2 separate regions of the Homo sapiens genome follow, and region 2 is linked to region 1. The links are contacts of gene promoters, found by promoter capture Hi-C in human tissues and cell types (Jung and others, 2019). All regions are on one chromosome and are shown on one strand. Each heading gives the region's core, a stretch centred on a gene start or on the middle of the fragment in contact. The rest is flanking DNA. Distances are from core to core; before and after follow the strand shown. Region 1 holds the start of BSN (bassoon presynaptic cytomatrix protein). Region 2 holds the start of RBM5 (RNA binding motif protein 5).

What was found. Contacts are between HindIII fragments. The study calls those that stand out against the background at their distance.
Region 2: the fragment with the promoter of RBM5 here is called in contact with the fragment with the promoter of BSN in region 1 in 1 of the 25 tissues and cell types used here (bladder).

The regions. Positions count from the first base shown.
Region 1 is chr3:49,549,588-49,556,698 of GRCh38, reverse strand. BSN (bassoon presynaptic cytomatrix protein) reads right to left here and starts at 2,222. Exons shown (of 12, transcript NM_003458.4): 1 at 1,873-2,222. The coding sequence starts at 2,096. It overlaps BSN-DT (BSN divergent transcript), which reads left to right and starts at 2,333. Exons shown (of 3, transcript NR_038866.1): 1 at 2,333-2,658; 2 at 3,012-3,151; 3 at 5,257-7,111. RefSeq lists silencers at 1,835-2,044, 2,115-2,414. The HindIII fragment of the contact is 7,009 bases long and covers 1-6,532 here.
Region 2 is chr3:50,085,434-50,092,598 of GRCh38, reverse strand. RBM5 (RNA binding motif protein 5) reads right to left here and starts at 3,680. Exons shown (of 25, transcript NM_005778.4): 1 at 3,570-3,680; 2 at 2,148-2,217; 3 at 391-556. The coding sequence starts at 2,164. RefSeq lists enhancers at 2,641-3,231, 3,393-3,502, 3,543-3,712, 3,232-3,823. The HindIII fragment of the contact is 21,518 bases long and covers 1-7,165 here.

The DNA of each region.
Region 1 (7,111 bases), core at 973-3,472:
GATAAGCCATGGAGCTGCTGCTCAGCTGAGGTGCTATGATAAAATGAATATCAGCTGGAGGAGTAAATCCCACCTCCTAATGGTCTCTGGTTCTGAGCTTTGGGGACAAATAGCCAGCTCACCTCCTGAGTCTGATAGTCACAGGACCTCAGCACCACAGGCTCAGGTATGAGCCTTGCCCACAGCCAGGTAAGAGATTGTGTGACTACTAAATCCATCAGGAGTCCGTGGTTCGCCTCACCCACAGCAGTTCATGGGTCTGCCTGCAGCAGAATGTACAGATGAAGTACAAATGAAACACTAAAAAGGCATATGAGCAATAGACATCAGCCTCCTTCCGGTCCCTCTGAGCTGCCCAGGTCTTTCCAGAATTTCATATGATTGGCTCTGCAACATCTGATAAACTACAAGCAGAGCAGCCTGTTTGGTTATCAGAAGAGAAATGACAAATTCCCCATACAGGGAACTCTCAATAACAAGGTGTTTTTCCATTCAGCTACAGAAGCTTTCCCTTGGAAGGAGAACACTAAAGCCTGGGTGAGCCTCCCTCAAGCTAAAACCCAAACAGCAACTCAACATGCAGCAAAATGGACAGTGTTTGCAGTGCTAAGAGCTGTGTGCTATCCAACTGCATTACTATTATAGCTAGTATAAAATGGACAAATCCCACCTCTAAAAAGGATGCTCACAGGCTGACCTGTCTGCCGCAGGTTTCAAGCTACTAACAGCCTTTCATTACTGTTAGTTGTCTAAGAAATGACTTCTGAGGAAATAAACACACAAGAGGCACAGTCGGGCAGCCAAAGAATAAAAAATTATGCGTCCTCAGTTTATGTGCTTCCACACAGAAAAGCCAGGGCAACATATATCAGCAGACCCACATGGAGCTGGAAGCACCTCCCTCCCACCCCCTGGGGGTTTTGCTACTCCCCAAGCCTATTTGGTGCAAAGATAATGCCTTCCATTTTATCGTGTCATCTCTTAGTAGTTTTCCTGAGTTTTCAGTCTACTGACTTATTATATATTGGCATTCCCTTACAGCCTTCATTGCCACTTGACTGTTTTTGCAGGACCTGGGTTGGCATACATTTAAAACAAACTGGTTTCACAGTATTTAATCAGATATGTTCTGTTTAAAGCATTCTGTGTGGGTTTCAGCTTTTCCACTGGTTTGATCTAAATCATAAGGTAACGAGAACATATCTGGTGCTGGATGACTCAATAGCATTTTTGCTTCACCCCAAAATGTTTCCCTAAACCTTGGTGAAAGCACATGATCCTATTAGTATTGTTGGGCCTAAATAAGCACCTCTTGGTGTCCAGTGGGCAATTTTCCTTTCCCCCAAAGGTGATTACAGCCACTAAATGCCCAAGGAAAGCCCAAGACCAAGTTCATGGTTCAACTATTTTCATCTCTCTGTTCCTCGCAGTGACACTTATCTTCCCTGACAGCCACTCCCATTGTGCTGTTTTCTCGGCCCAGCACAATGGACACATGCAGACACCAGCAGACAGGGAGGACGTTTTCCATCCCATTGCTCTCCTGTGCGGAGGGACCAGGTTAAGGTTACATAAGCCCCTCCTGAGCAGTCAGGCCCGAGCGTTGGGGAGAAGCGAATTTGGGGTTCGTGACGGAGTCACGGTCTGCAGGCCCCGACTGACCCTGCGCTCGTCATCCTGCCACGCCAAGGCGGGGCAGCTGGAAAGGAAGGGCCGCTTCCCGCGACCACCCAGTTCACGCCAATCCGGCAGGGTTCAGAGTGCGGCCGGACGTCGAACCTCGCTGTCCACACTAGATCGCGGGATCCTGGGCCCGGGTCCCGGCCTCAGGCTGCAGCTCACCGCCCCCCGGGCGCCGAGACACGCGCTTACCTGCCCGGGCCAGGGCCGGGACCGGGGCCGGGGCCGGGGCCAGGGACCGGTGGTACCGCGGTCGACCGCGCTGCTCCCGCCGCGGGGAGCTGTCCGCCACCGGCCGGTGCTGAAGGCGGCTTTCCTGCGCCGGGGCCGGGGCCGGGGCCCGGGCCGGGGCCGGCGCCGCCGGGCGGCAGCGGCCCGTCGCCAGCGCCGCCCTCCAGGCTGACCTCGTTGCCCATGGCGGGCAGGCGGGCGGGCGGGGTCGGGGTCGCGCTGCGCCCGGGCCGGCGGCTCCCGGGCGGTGCTCACACTCTCGGCGCCGCCGCTGCCGCCGCCATCTCCCAGCTCGGCTCGCGCCGCCGCCTGCCGCTGCGCATGCGCGTCTCGCGCCCCCTTCCCTGCACACGCCCCCCTTCCCCTGTGCGCGCTCCCGCCAGCCTCGGGGTCGCTGGGAAACAGCCGCCGGCGCCCGCGCATGCGCTGTCCAGGGCCGACGCGGTTGTATCATGCTGAGAAGGAGCCGGGCGGGGGCCGGCGGGGCTGCGAGGGCCCTGTGAGGAGGGGCACCTGCCACTAGAAGCGGCCTCTGGGACGTCGCGCTGAGCCCTGCTTTGGAGTCAGAGGGGCTTTCCGCCTCGGTGAACTCGAGAGTAGCAACTCTCCTCCGGGTAACCGGAGTGCCACAGCGGGCAGGCGTCATAAGGACAGGCCTCGGAGAGGAGAGGGGCTACCCGAGAATGGCCTCAAAAGTATGCATAGGAGTTGGGAAGGCAGAGGAACAAGTGTATTCAGAGACGCAAGGTCGTAGAGGGAAGGAGAGGGAGGGTGCTGGGTGGTCGGGCCGGATTGTGAGGGTCTTTAAGGCCAGCTGGGGAGTGGAGCCTTTATCCAGATGGCGATGGGAACCATCTGGGATTCACACTGAGGAACTGGGAGTCTCAGGAAGCGCCCCGGGCACAGATGGAAGGTGTGACAGGGCTGTGTGAAGCCAGCTGGGAGGCCACCTCAGTCAGCCCTGGGAGAGTGACCTTGGGGATGGAAAAGAGGACTTGATGGTTCTCAGGCCTGGAGCTGTCTCGATGCGGGGCCGCAGGTTGCCTCTGCATTACCCTGAGAGCTTTCCAAATTACTTCCCCGCTCCCTCACATTTACAGCCGGTTTCTGCCCGCTACTCAGGATTGTCTGCCGTGGTGGCTTCTCACACAAGCCTGTACTTTCCTGTGGGAGAATATTTCCTAGGAGCCTATATTCCAGTTCATCTCTGACGTCATAAATCATGACTGTGTAGAAAGGCGTGAGTAACTTGAACCCATTTTACAAACCCATTCAATTCTCCTAATGTTGCGAAATATATCACATAGGGTGTTAGCAGTTCTAACTGAACCTAGAATAATCCAGGGATCCCAGTGAATGCTGATAGCCAGCCTGCTGGACAGACCGGTGGCTGTGTCAGTTCTTGTGAGGAGGGGCCAGGACCCTCCCTGGGCCTTCCCCTGTGCACTCCGAGCTGCTCCTCCCGACCTCTGGGATGGAGCAAGTAAGAGAAAGAGGAAATGCAGAGCCCCCACTTCCTGATATTTTCTCCTGACTTCATACCTCCCGTTTTCACGCTAAACTGCCTGGCCCCTCTGGGATGACCTAGGATGAAGAGAGCCTCTCTTCCTGCAGATGATGGTCCTTGCTGTGTTTCCTCCTGTGCTGCAGGATGTTTGATACAGCTTCGTGAGTGGTGACTACATGTGCACATTTAGGCTCCAAAAGAGTCTGCACCTCAGCCCCGATAGGACCCTTGGCAACTGACTTAGGCTCACTGAGCCTCCATTTCCTATTCTGCAAAGTTAGAATCTTAGTAGCTCCTCGAATATGGGGGATTGTAAGGGTAGAGTGGCTGATGTAGATATTTTATTTTTTATTCATTTTATTTTTTTTATTTTTATTTTTTGGAGACAGACTCTCGCTCTGTCACCCAGGCTGGAGTACAGTGGTGTGATCTCGGCTCACTGCAACCTCCACCTCCCGGATTCAAATGATTCTCCTGCCTCAGCCTCCCTAGTAGCTGGGATTACAGGTGCCCACCACCACACCTGGCTAGTTTTTGTATTTTTAGTAGAGATGGGATTTCACCATGTTGGCCAGGTTGGTCTTGAACTCCTGACCTCTGGTGATCCTCCCACCTCGGCCTCCCAAAGTGCTGGGATTACAGGCATGAGTCAATGCACCCAGCCTGATGTAGGTAAAACACCAGGACAAGTGCCTGGTATACTTATGACAACTCTGTTATTAGTTGTCTCCCTGGTGATGGTCTGGGATGTGGCGGTCTTGTGCCATATATTTCCTCCTGGGGAAGAATATGCTCACAAACACTATGGGCAGGCCAGTGGCCTGACCTTGTCCCAACCCAGGCTGTTATAGCTTCACAGACCCCAGTCAGTGTGGGTTGGGCTACTTGAAACAGGGGAAAGGATGTTTATTTTTTTGTTTTTGTAGAAACCACAGGAGCTATGGCTTTCCACAGATTTAAATCAACATGCCTCTGGTTCCTGTGTGGTTAATTAGCTCTACCCAGCCTGCAGGCTTGGGGAGTTGCCCTCCTCAGAGTGGATTCCTGGCTGTTAGCAGACCTCCAGGGTCTTTGCTGCCCTGGTGACAAAGGGCACAGCACAGTGGACCCAGGAGACCTGAAAATGTGGGTTAGAGGTGCCCCTCCTCTCCTCTCAAACTCTCCCAGTTCTGTTTCCTTTGAGGAGCATCCCCAGGAACATGCCTGCCCTGTGTTCATTCACCCTTGACATTCAGCCCAGGGACTCTTGTGGACCATGGGATGGTATTGGCCTCTGGTTATCTGGGGCTCTGATTCAATCTCCCATTTCCATTCACTGTCCCAGAGGCTGTTTACCTCCTTTTGATCTAGACTGGGGCTCCTCAACAGCAGGACCTTGTCTGACTGGTCCTATCCCCTGGGCTGGCCTTCAGCAGGCCCTCTGGGGCTCATGGTTGTGCTGGCTTCTCCATGACGCTCTGAGCATTTCCCTCACCTGCGCTTCTAAAGGGCCCACCAATCACCAGGCTTAAAAGCACTCAGAGAGATCTTTGGCTTTAGCTGCTGAGCTAATAAGTAACAGGGAGAGTGCTGGGATTGCATCTGGTTTCTCCTCATGGAGGGGTTGTTGATGAGCTCTCTTCACTCATCCAGGAAAATTCACTAGGCTTGACTATGCTTTATGACAAATGAATAAACAAATCTTTCAGTTTATGCAAGCCAGCTGTGTGGTGTGTCAAGTATCATGTCCTCCTGGGTCCAACTGCTGCCCCACCAGGGACAGGATAGACCTAGAGACCCTGCAGGAGTTTCCCAGTCCCCTAAGCTTCACTTGCTGAAATATCTTCTTCCCACTTCAGCATAACATGTGACACATGGCAGCCATTTTGGAGATGGCCAGATGAGAGGACAATCAATCCACATGCCTAAATGGAACCAACAGACATGTGCCAGCTTGCTTCTCCAGCCTATGTTCTCAGACACTTGTAGAAGACCAGAGGGAAAATGGAATCAGAAAAAACAGCAACAACAACAAAAAGCCATCCAGGGCCATGCACAGTGGCTCACTCCTGTAATCCCAACAGTTTGGGAGGCCAAGGCAGGTGGATTGCTTGAGCTCAGCAGTTTAAGACCAGCCTGGGCAACATGGCGAAACCCTTTCTCTACTAAATACAAAAACTAGCTGGGTGTGGTGGCATGCACCTGTAGTCCCAGCTACTCGGGAGGCTGAGGTGGGAGGATCACCTGAGCCTGGGAGGTTGAAGCTGCAGTGAGCTGTGATGGTGCCACTGCACTCCCACCTGGGTGACAGAGCAAGACCCTGTCTCAAAAAAACAAAACTAAACAAAAAAATCCATGTGGGAAAAGGCCCAATCAGAGCCAACTCACTGCTGGGATTAGTAGAAATGATTAGTCACCAGAAGGCAAATCGTGGAAGAATGAAGAGATGACAGGACCTCAGGAACTACACCCAGAGGTGTAGTTGTGCCGTAGGCAAAGCATCATGCCGGTCATCCCCAAGAAAGGGAGAAGGGGTAGAGCTCAGACTCTTCCCTGCTTCCCCATAAGTCCAGTTTACCCTGGGCTGATCCTTTCAGCATGGCAGCCTCCGTGGGGAGGCACGAGATCCAAAGATGAAGATGTCTATGGGGGTGAAGAAGAATGGCAAACTTTGCAGGCAAGAGTAGGCATTAGAGAGATCAGAGGAGGAAGACAATAGAGAAGGATGACACAGGACAGGCTGTATCTAGAGGATATAATGCCATGGACTTTGGACTATTCCAGAGAGGCTGAGAGACCTGTCTCCTGCCTACAAGGCTCCTTGAACTCTGCACCCTTCTTTTTGCTAAAGTGCTGCTGAGGCCTGTCTCACTTCCCAATGAAAAGCAACTCAGGAAATTGGCTTCCTGCCCCACTCCTTCTTTGGGAGAGAGAAACAGAACTGAAGAGGAAGGAAGGAAGCCCAAAGAAACAGAGGCTTTCTTTCCTGGCTGAGATTTGTTGGCACTGCCCACTAACATAGAGAATAAGGTGGTTCCCTAAGCGAGCCTTAAGCTGGCATGAGGCTACAAACAAGTGATTGTATCTTCGTTCTGCTCAGCAGCCTACCTGGGCTGGCCTGGACAACCTCAATTGTATACTGAGGTCTTAAGCTGGCCATGGCCCTTGGTAAAGCAGGAGAAAGGAATAAGGCTGGAAGGTACAGAATTTGCTTGATGCCTTGCCTACATAATTCCTTTGCTGTTGCAACTGGCAACTCTTTGCTTGCATTATATGAAAAAAAGGCGGTAAAAAATTGTCAGAAATGTTTGCCACCAGCCTAACCCCACTGCCCATGCATTGCTCCCAAGAAAGCTAATTAAGGCCCATTGCTATTAGAGTTACATGATTCTGAAGGCTTGTTATGACAAGAAAAAATAATGAAGACATGGTTCCTCCAAGTCATAAGCATCCAAGTCAAAACATACTGCATCCCAGGCGAGTGTGGTGGCTCACGCCTGTAATCCCAGCACTTCGGGAGGCCAAGGCAGCCGGATCACGAGGTCAGGAGTTCGAGACCAGCCTTGCCAAGATGATGAAACCCCGTCTCTACTAAAAATACAAAAATTAGCCAGGCATGGTGGCGGGCGCCTGTACTCCCAGCTACTCAGGAAGCTGAGGCAGGAGAATCGCTTGAAACCGGGAGGCGGAGGTTGCAATGAGCCGAGATCACAC
Region 2 (7,165 bases), core at 2,431-4,930, 530 kb before region 1:
CCCTGGCCATTATTTCTTTTCTTTTTTTTTTTTTTTTGAGATGGAGTCTTGCTTTGTCACCCATGCTGGAGAGCACTGATACAATCTCAGCTCACTGCAACCTCCGCCTCCCAGGTTTCAAGTGATTCTCTTACCTCAGTCTCCCAAGTAGCTGGGATTACAGGCGCCCACCACCCCACTCAGCTAATTTTTGTATTTTTAGTAGAGACGGGTTTTACTATGTTGGCCAGACTGGTCTTAAACTCCTGACCTCAAGTGATCTGGCCGCCTTGGCCTCCCAAAGTGATAGGATTATGGGAAGGGGCCACTGGACCTGGCTGCCTGGCTGTTATTTCTATTACTATAAGGCTCAGAGTGTTTTGGGGGGTTATACAGCCGCTGGTCACTCACCTCTGGACTGTCATAGTCTCGGTAGTCATCATATCTATCACCCCTCCGATCATCACTAGATCTTTTGTAATCTGAGTCCCTCCGCCTGCTTCGGGATTCACGCTCATCACGGTCATCCCTGTCTATGATGGAACCGTATCTTCCACTACGCTCTGTTCTACTCACTCTGCCAGGGAAAATAATTTTCATTCTAAAGTCAGTCACATTTTGTACCTTTAAAAGACATAGTTAAAAATACACACGGCCCACAGATCAGTTTATAAGATAATCCAAATAGTTTAAAGTGTTAAAAAGTATTACCAAATTCCAGTTTACTAAGATAACCACTGGGAAAATACCTACATCCCTAAATGTAATGATAATTCTCAGGAATGTATGCTAAATCTGAAATAAACATTTGGGTTGAATATTTCTAAGAAAGAGTCATGTTGTCCAAGTTTATTTTTGCATTTTGTCAAGCCTAGAGTCTACATATTATCCCTTCATCCCTGATTCAGATCTTAGTGACCAAAAACAGGAAGAAAGCAGTTACTCGAATTTCACCCAATTTTAAAGGGTGAAATTAAGTACATCCCTGGCTCATCTACTCTCAAGGGTATCATGCCTACTGGAAAATGGACCAAAAACCTGGATGAACTAAGTTAGTCTTTTTTTTCCCCATCAGGCAACTTAGTTGTCTGTCAGATACAACTGGATAGTTACCCAAAACTAGCACCCCTTAAGAGAACACTCTTCTTATAACATCTGGTTTATTTTTGGCTAAAGGGCAGCACTGGGCTTCATGGGAAAACCTAATAACAAGAGGCTTAAACCTATTTGACCACAGATAAAATACACCTTTTGTAAACTGTTTACCAGATTCATAAAACTGCTGTGCAATCATAAGGCAAAGGAAAGGTTTATAAGGGCTTCATTTAGAATATACAAATTTAATAAAAAGAATCAAAGGAAATATGGGACTGAGACACCCCAAAGGGGTAAATGTTAATTTAGTAAGCTATTTAGAACCACAGACTGCTGACACAGCATTAAAATACCATGTGACATGAACATCTCCTAAGGTCCCTCAGCCTGTCAATGTGATCTACCACAGGGACTGACCTCAATACTAAAAAGGCAGATGGCTGAATAAGGGTGTGTGTTTAAATCAAATGGTCTGAGAGCATGTACCCATAGGTGACACAATAGCCAAATGCTCTCATCTTAATTTTCCACTAATTCTTTGGCTCTTTCTTTCTTCATGTAACACACAGTCCCAAGCTTCTCAGCTCTCTAAGTCTGGATCATCTTGCTATTCAGGGAACAATAACAAGAAATGGCATTCATTGATTGCTTACCACAGCCAGGAACTGTGCTAAGTGCCAGACTGTATGATCTCCTGGATTCTGCAAAGGTTGCTGTCCACACAGGGAACCTTCAGTGACCCACTCTACCCTGCCCTTCTTTGCCTAAAATTCTTTCTTATCCTTCAGCTTCCTTCCAGAGAATATTTTCTCCAGGAAGCTTTCCTGGCTGTGAACAAGAAAAAGACATACTTCCTATGTGTTCTAAGAGCACCCTACACTTTATCACAGCATGTTCACACAGTACTTTAATTCTCTCACTAGACTGTAGTTTGTGACAACAGGATCATAAAGGTGTTCGTTAGCAATGCCTGGCGCAAAACACTCATATATTAGTTTGATAAACTATTTTAAACAAGGAGTTCAGTCCCCACTGAAATGTTGAGATCAAAGCCACGTACTGTAGTAACTTACCTTTTGTCTGAACCCATTGTCCCACTGAAGATTTAGCACACAGCTCCAAAAGGTTCAAATTTTATTTTTTCTAGGAGACAAGAGAGATTAATTGCTATAAATCTCAGAGATCACTTAAGTCAGCAGCTCCATAGCTTGGATACTACTGAGGCTGGGATTTCATCAAACCTTCAAATCATTGACAGTGATTATCTAAGGTGGGGAAGTGGTGGGGACAAACTGTCAACGTTAAAATCGTGCTAACATTTTGTTAACAATGAGCAAAACCGGAAGATTAAGCATATTTTAAAATATTAGATTCCAGATTTAACAGAATCATAATACGGAGCAAGCAGAAGACTCCTTCCCTGCTCCTACCTTAGAATTACAAAGCAAAAAGGGCAGAGCTACAATCAGCTCCTTGGTTTTGTATCAAAGCAACTCCGTGGGATAGTTGACCGTTAAAACATTAATCCAAGTGTCTTCATTAATACAAGGAGCAACATGAAATTCAAACACTTCTGATGAAAAATGTAAAACCTCGTAGAAGCTGGGATACTGAGCTGACTGAAATCTACTACATTAATAACGTATCGCATAAGACAAGAGCAAAGCTAGAAACGACCTAATTCCTAGGTAACAATAACCACCACGTCTTGAGCCAGTTCTTATGACTACAAACCACTGAGTAGTGAACAGCCCGGCCCCCCGCCCCCCGTTGGTAATAAGACATCACACTGCTGGACCGCGTTCGATGAGCGCGAGGTCCGAAAAATCAGTTCCAGTAGTCTCTGGAAGCCTAGTCTAGAGCGAATGCTCAACGATTTGTTGAAATTAATAAATGAAAAAGAACCACTGGGGGGAAACAAGTCCCGGGGCATATTCACTGGTGCCGCCCCTTGTCTCCCGGGCGGTGCCGGCACCCACCTCCGTGGGGTCTCGCGGCCGAGATGGCGGCGTCACGGCCTGCTCGACCGACTCCAGCGTCCGGCCTGCCCTCCCCGCACATGCCCCTCCCGCCTCCCAAGAGGTTCCAAACCCGCAGATGGGCGATCACCGAACAGCTTTTCGGAGAGGGCGATTCAGTTGCAGTTGAGCGGGGGATGGCGGCCAGAGACTGCCAGGGAGCTCCCAAGGAGTGCCCGAGGGACAGGCGACGGCTCCACTGCTCCGTTGGGCTGAAGATTAGGGGACGTGTATCCACAAGGGGCAAAGTCACAGCCAGAAAGAAGCAGGCCCAAGGCTGAGCTGGCTGGACACCCTCTGGAAACTGACAGAGCTGGCAACAAGGAAGGGCGCGGCCCTCCAACGCCTGGGGTAATTTAGCCCCTCTACAGAACCGGCTGGAGCTGATCAGTCGCCTCCGGCAGCTGACAAGGGAGGCTTGGGGGCCAGCCCAAATGGCAAGAACCTACCGTCGTTACAGACAGCCGCCGCACTTACCCCAAGGAGAGACCGAAGCAGCAGTAGCGGTTCTGCGCCCCAGAACCTCCAACAAGGTTCGGCGGCTACACAAAATGGCGCCTCCGCCGACGGCCGTCTCCTACCCACAGTACCTCACGCTTATCCCCTCCCCCTGTCACCCGCCTCCTGCGGAGAAGTCCAATCCTCGAAGCGGCCTGGCTGTGCGAGGGCTGCCGGGAAATGTGGTCGCCAGACCATCCTGTCACTTAGGACGCTCTGTGTTAATGTCTTGCAATTCTCTTCTAAATCACTACAGAGTTGTCGATCGGCTTTTGCAGACCTGGATTAGTTTTTAGGGCTCCTATTAGGCATGTTAATAATTCTTTGCTTTTGCTACTAGCGCCGTAGAGAGTACAGTTTGCTTTCACTGGCACGGTGTAAAACATTGTCTAATTCTACTTCAAAAGGAGACCGTGCGTGAAGTGGTGGCTCACTCACAAGCCAGCATTTTGGGAGGCCGAGGCAGGAGGATCGCTTGAGGCCAGGAGTTCGAGACCAGCCTGGGAAACACAGTGAGATCCTATCTCTACAAAAAATAAAATTAACTGAGCATGGTGGCGTGCACCTCTTGTCCCAGCTACTCAGGAGCTGAGGTGAGAGGTTCGCTTGGGCCCAAGAGGTCGAGGCTGCAGTGAGCTGTGATCTCGTCACAGCACTCCAGCCTGGGGACAATGCGAGAAACTGTCGCTAAAAAATAAAAAGGAGGCCGGTGCTGGGCGCGGTGGCTCACTCCTGTAATCCCAGCACTTTGGGAGGCCAAGGCGGGCGGATCACAAGGTCAGGAGATCGAGACCATCCTGGCTAACACGGTGAAATCCCGTCTCTACTAAAAATACAAAAAAATTAGCTGGGCATGGTGGCGGGCGCCTGTAGTCCCAGCTACTTGGGCGGCTGAGGCAGGAGAATGGTGTGAACCCGGGAGGCGGAGCTTGCAGTGAGCCGAGATTGCGCCACTGCACTCCAGCCTGGGCAACAGAGTGAGACTCTGTTTCAAAAAAAAAAAAAAAAAAGGCTGGACGCAGTGGCTCACGCCTGTAATCCCAGCACTTTGGGAGGCCGAGGCAAGTGGATCACGAGGTCAGGAGCTCAAGACCAGCCTGACCAATATGGTGAAACCGCGTCTCTACTAAAAATACAAAAATTAGCCGGGCATGGTGGCATGCACCTGTAGTTCCAGCTACTAGGGAGGCTGAGGCAGGAGAATCACTTGAACCAGGGAGGCAGAGGTTGCAGTGAGCTGAGATCGTGCCACTGCACTCCAGCCTGGGTGACAGAGCAAGACTCAGTCTCAAAATAATAATAATAATAATAATAATAATAATAATAATAATAATAATAAATAAATAAATAAAAAGGAGGGGCCAGGCATGATGGCTCATGCCTGTAATCCAAGCACTGTGGGAGGCCGAGGCAGGTGGATCAGCTGAGCTCAGGAGTTCGAGACCAGCCTGGCCAACATGGCTAAACCCCGTCTCTACTAAAAATACAAAAATTAGCTGGGTGTGGTGGCGCACACCTATAATCCCAGCTACTTGGGAGGCTGAGGTAGGAGAATCGCTTGAACCCAAGAGGCGGAGGTTGCAGTGAGCCGAGATTGCTCTACCGCACTCCAGCTTGTGCAACACAGCAAGACTCTATCTCAAAAAAAAATAAAAATAAAAAATAAATTAAAATGAGGAACATTAGTTGATCGCTTTACTAGATGCTATATTATTGCCCTAGATGCTTTGCAAACATTTTTGTTTGTTTGTTTGTTTGAGATGGAGTTTTGCTCCTGTTGCCCAGGCTGGAGTGCAATGGCACAGTTTCAACTCACTGCAAACTCTGCCTCCCAGGTTCAAGTGATTCTCCTGCCTCAGCCTCCCAAACAGCTGGGATTACAGGCACCCGCCACCACACCCAGCTAATTTTTGTATTTTTAGTAGAGATGGGGTTTCACCATGTTGACCAGGCTGGTTTCGAACTCCTGACCTCAGGTGATCCACCTGCCTCAGCCTCCCAAAGTGCTAGGATTACAGGCATGAGCCACCGCACCCAGCCAGAACTGATTTTTCAGGTCATACAAATTGAAAACTGTGCCTATACCATTAGTTACAGAAAGTTATACATCAGTTACAGAAAACTGTGCCTATACCATTTTCTTCTCTCTCTGGAAAACAAATCTTTCAAGAATAAGTGGAGGGATGTCAGTGTATATATCTATATATAGGTATATACACAATACATATATAGACGAAAAGGTAGAAATATAATATATGTGGTGTGTGTGTATTTAGAGAGGAAATATATACAATTTATGGGGAAGCATATATGCAAAATATCAGAAAAGAGTACATGCATTAATGAAATTTAAAAGTTAACATTGATGACATCACTGCAAACCCTACAATGGATGATGCAGATGCCAAGAATCTAGAACTCACTAGACTTCATAGCCACTAGCCGTTGCCTGCCTTGTCCCCAAAGCAGTTCAACAAGCACCTTTGGATATTCCTGAGGTGCTTGCTGAGCTGGGCTTACCACCAGTCATAAAAGCTATATAGCTATTCACAAACCTCAAAATAATCTTTTTTTTTTTTGAGACGGGGTCTTACTCTGTCACCCAGGTTGGAGTGCAATGTCATGATCTCGGTTCATTGCAACCTCGACCTATCCAGGTCAAGAGATCCTCCCACCTCAGCCTCCTGAGTAGCTGAGACCACAGGTGTGCACCACCATGCCCAACTAATTTTTTGTATTTTTGGGGTAGAGATGGAGTTTCACCATGTTGCCCTGGCTGGTCTCGAACTCCTGAGTTCAAGCGATCCTCCTGCCTCAACCTCCCAAAGTGCTGGGATTACAAGCGTGAGCCACCATGCCCAGCCTGCAAAATAATTCTTAAACTTGAAGAGGTCCCTGGCAAAAAAAGATGGATTTCATCCATAGGTAAGTGCCATCCTCCAAATTATCTCTGGTAGCTGATCTTCTTTTAGACATTGGCCTGTTGAGCTCCAGAGCTCTGCTGCCAAAGGCCTGTCTGGTAGCTGATGTAAGAAAAAGAAAGACATCAGAGTGAGTTGCTCTTTGTTTTAAATAAAGCCACATATGTTCAATAAGGGATAGTCCTTTAAGATTGTCTTTTCTAGCCCTCTCCCTCTCCCTCTCCCCACGGTCTCCCTCTCTCTCTCTTTCCACGGTCTCCCTCTGATGCCGAGCCGAAGCTGGACAGTACTGCTGCCATCTCGGCTCACTGCAACCTCCCTGCCTGATTCTCCTGCCTCAGCTTGCCGAGTGCCTGCGATTGCAGGTGCGCACCGCCACGCCTGACTGGTTTTCGTATTTTTTTGGTGGAGACGGGGATTCGCTGTGTTGGCCGGGCTGGTCTCCAGCTCCTAACCGTGAGTGATCCGCCAGCCTCGGCCTCCCGAGGTGCCGGGATTGCAGACGGAGTCTCGTTCACTCAGTGCTCAATGGTGCCCAGGCTGGAGTGCAGTGGCATGATCTCGGCTCGCTACAACCTCCACCTCCCAGCAGCCTGCCTTGGCCTCCCAAAGTGCCGAGATTGCAGCCTCTGCCCGGCCGCCACCCCGTCTGGG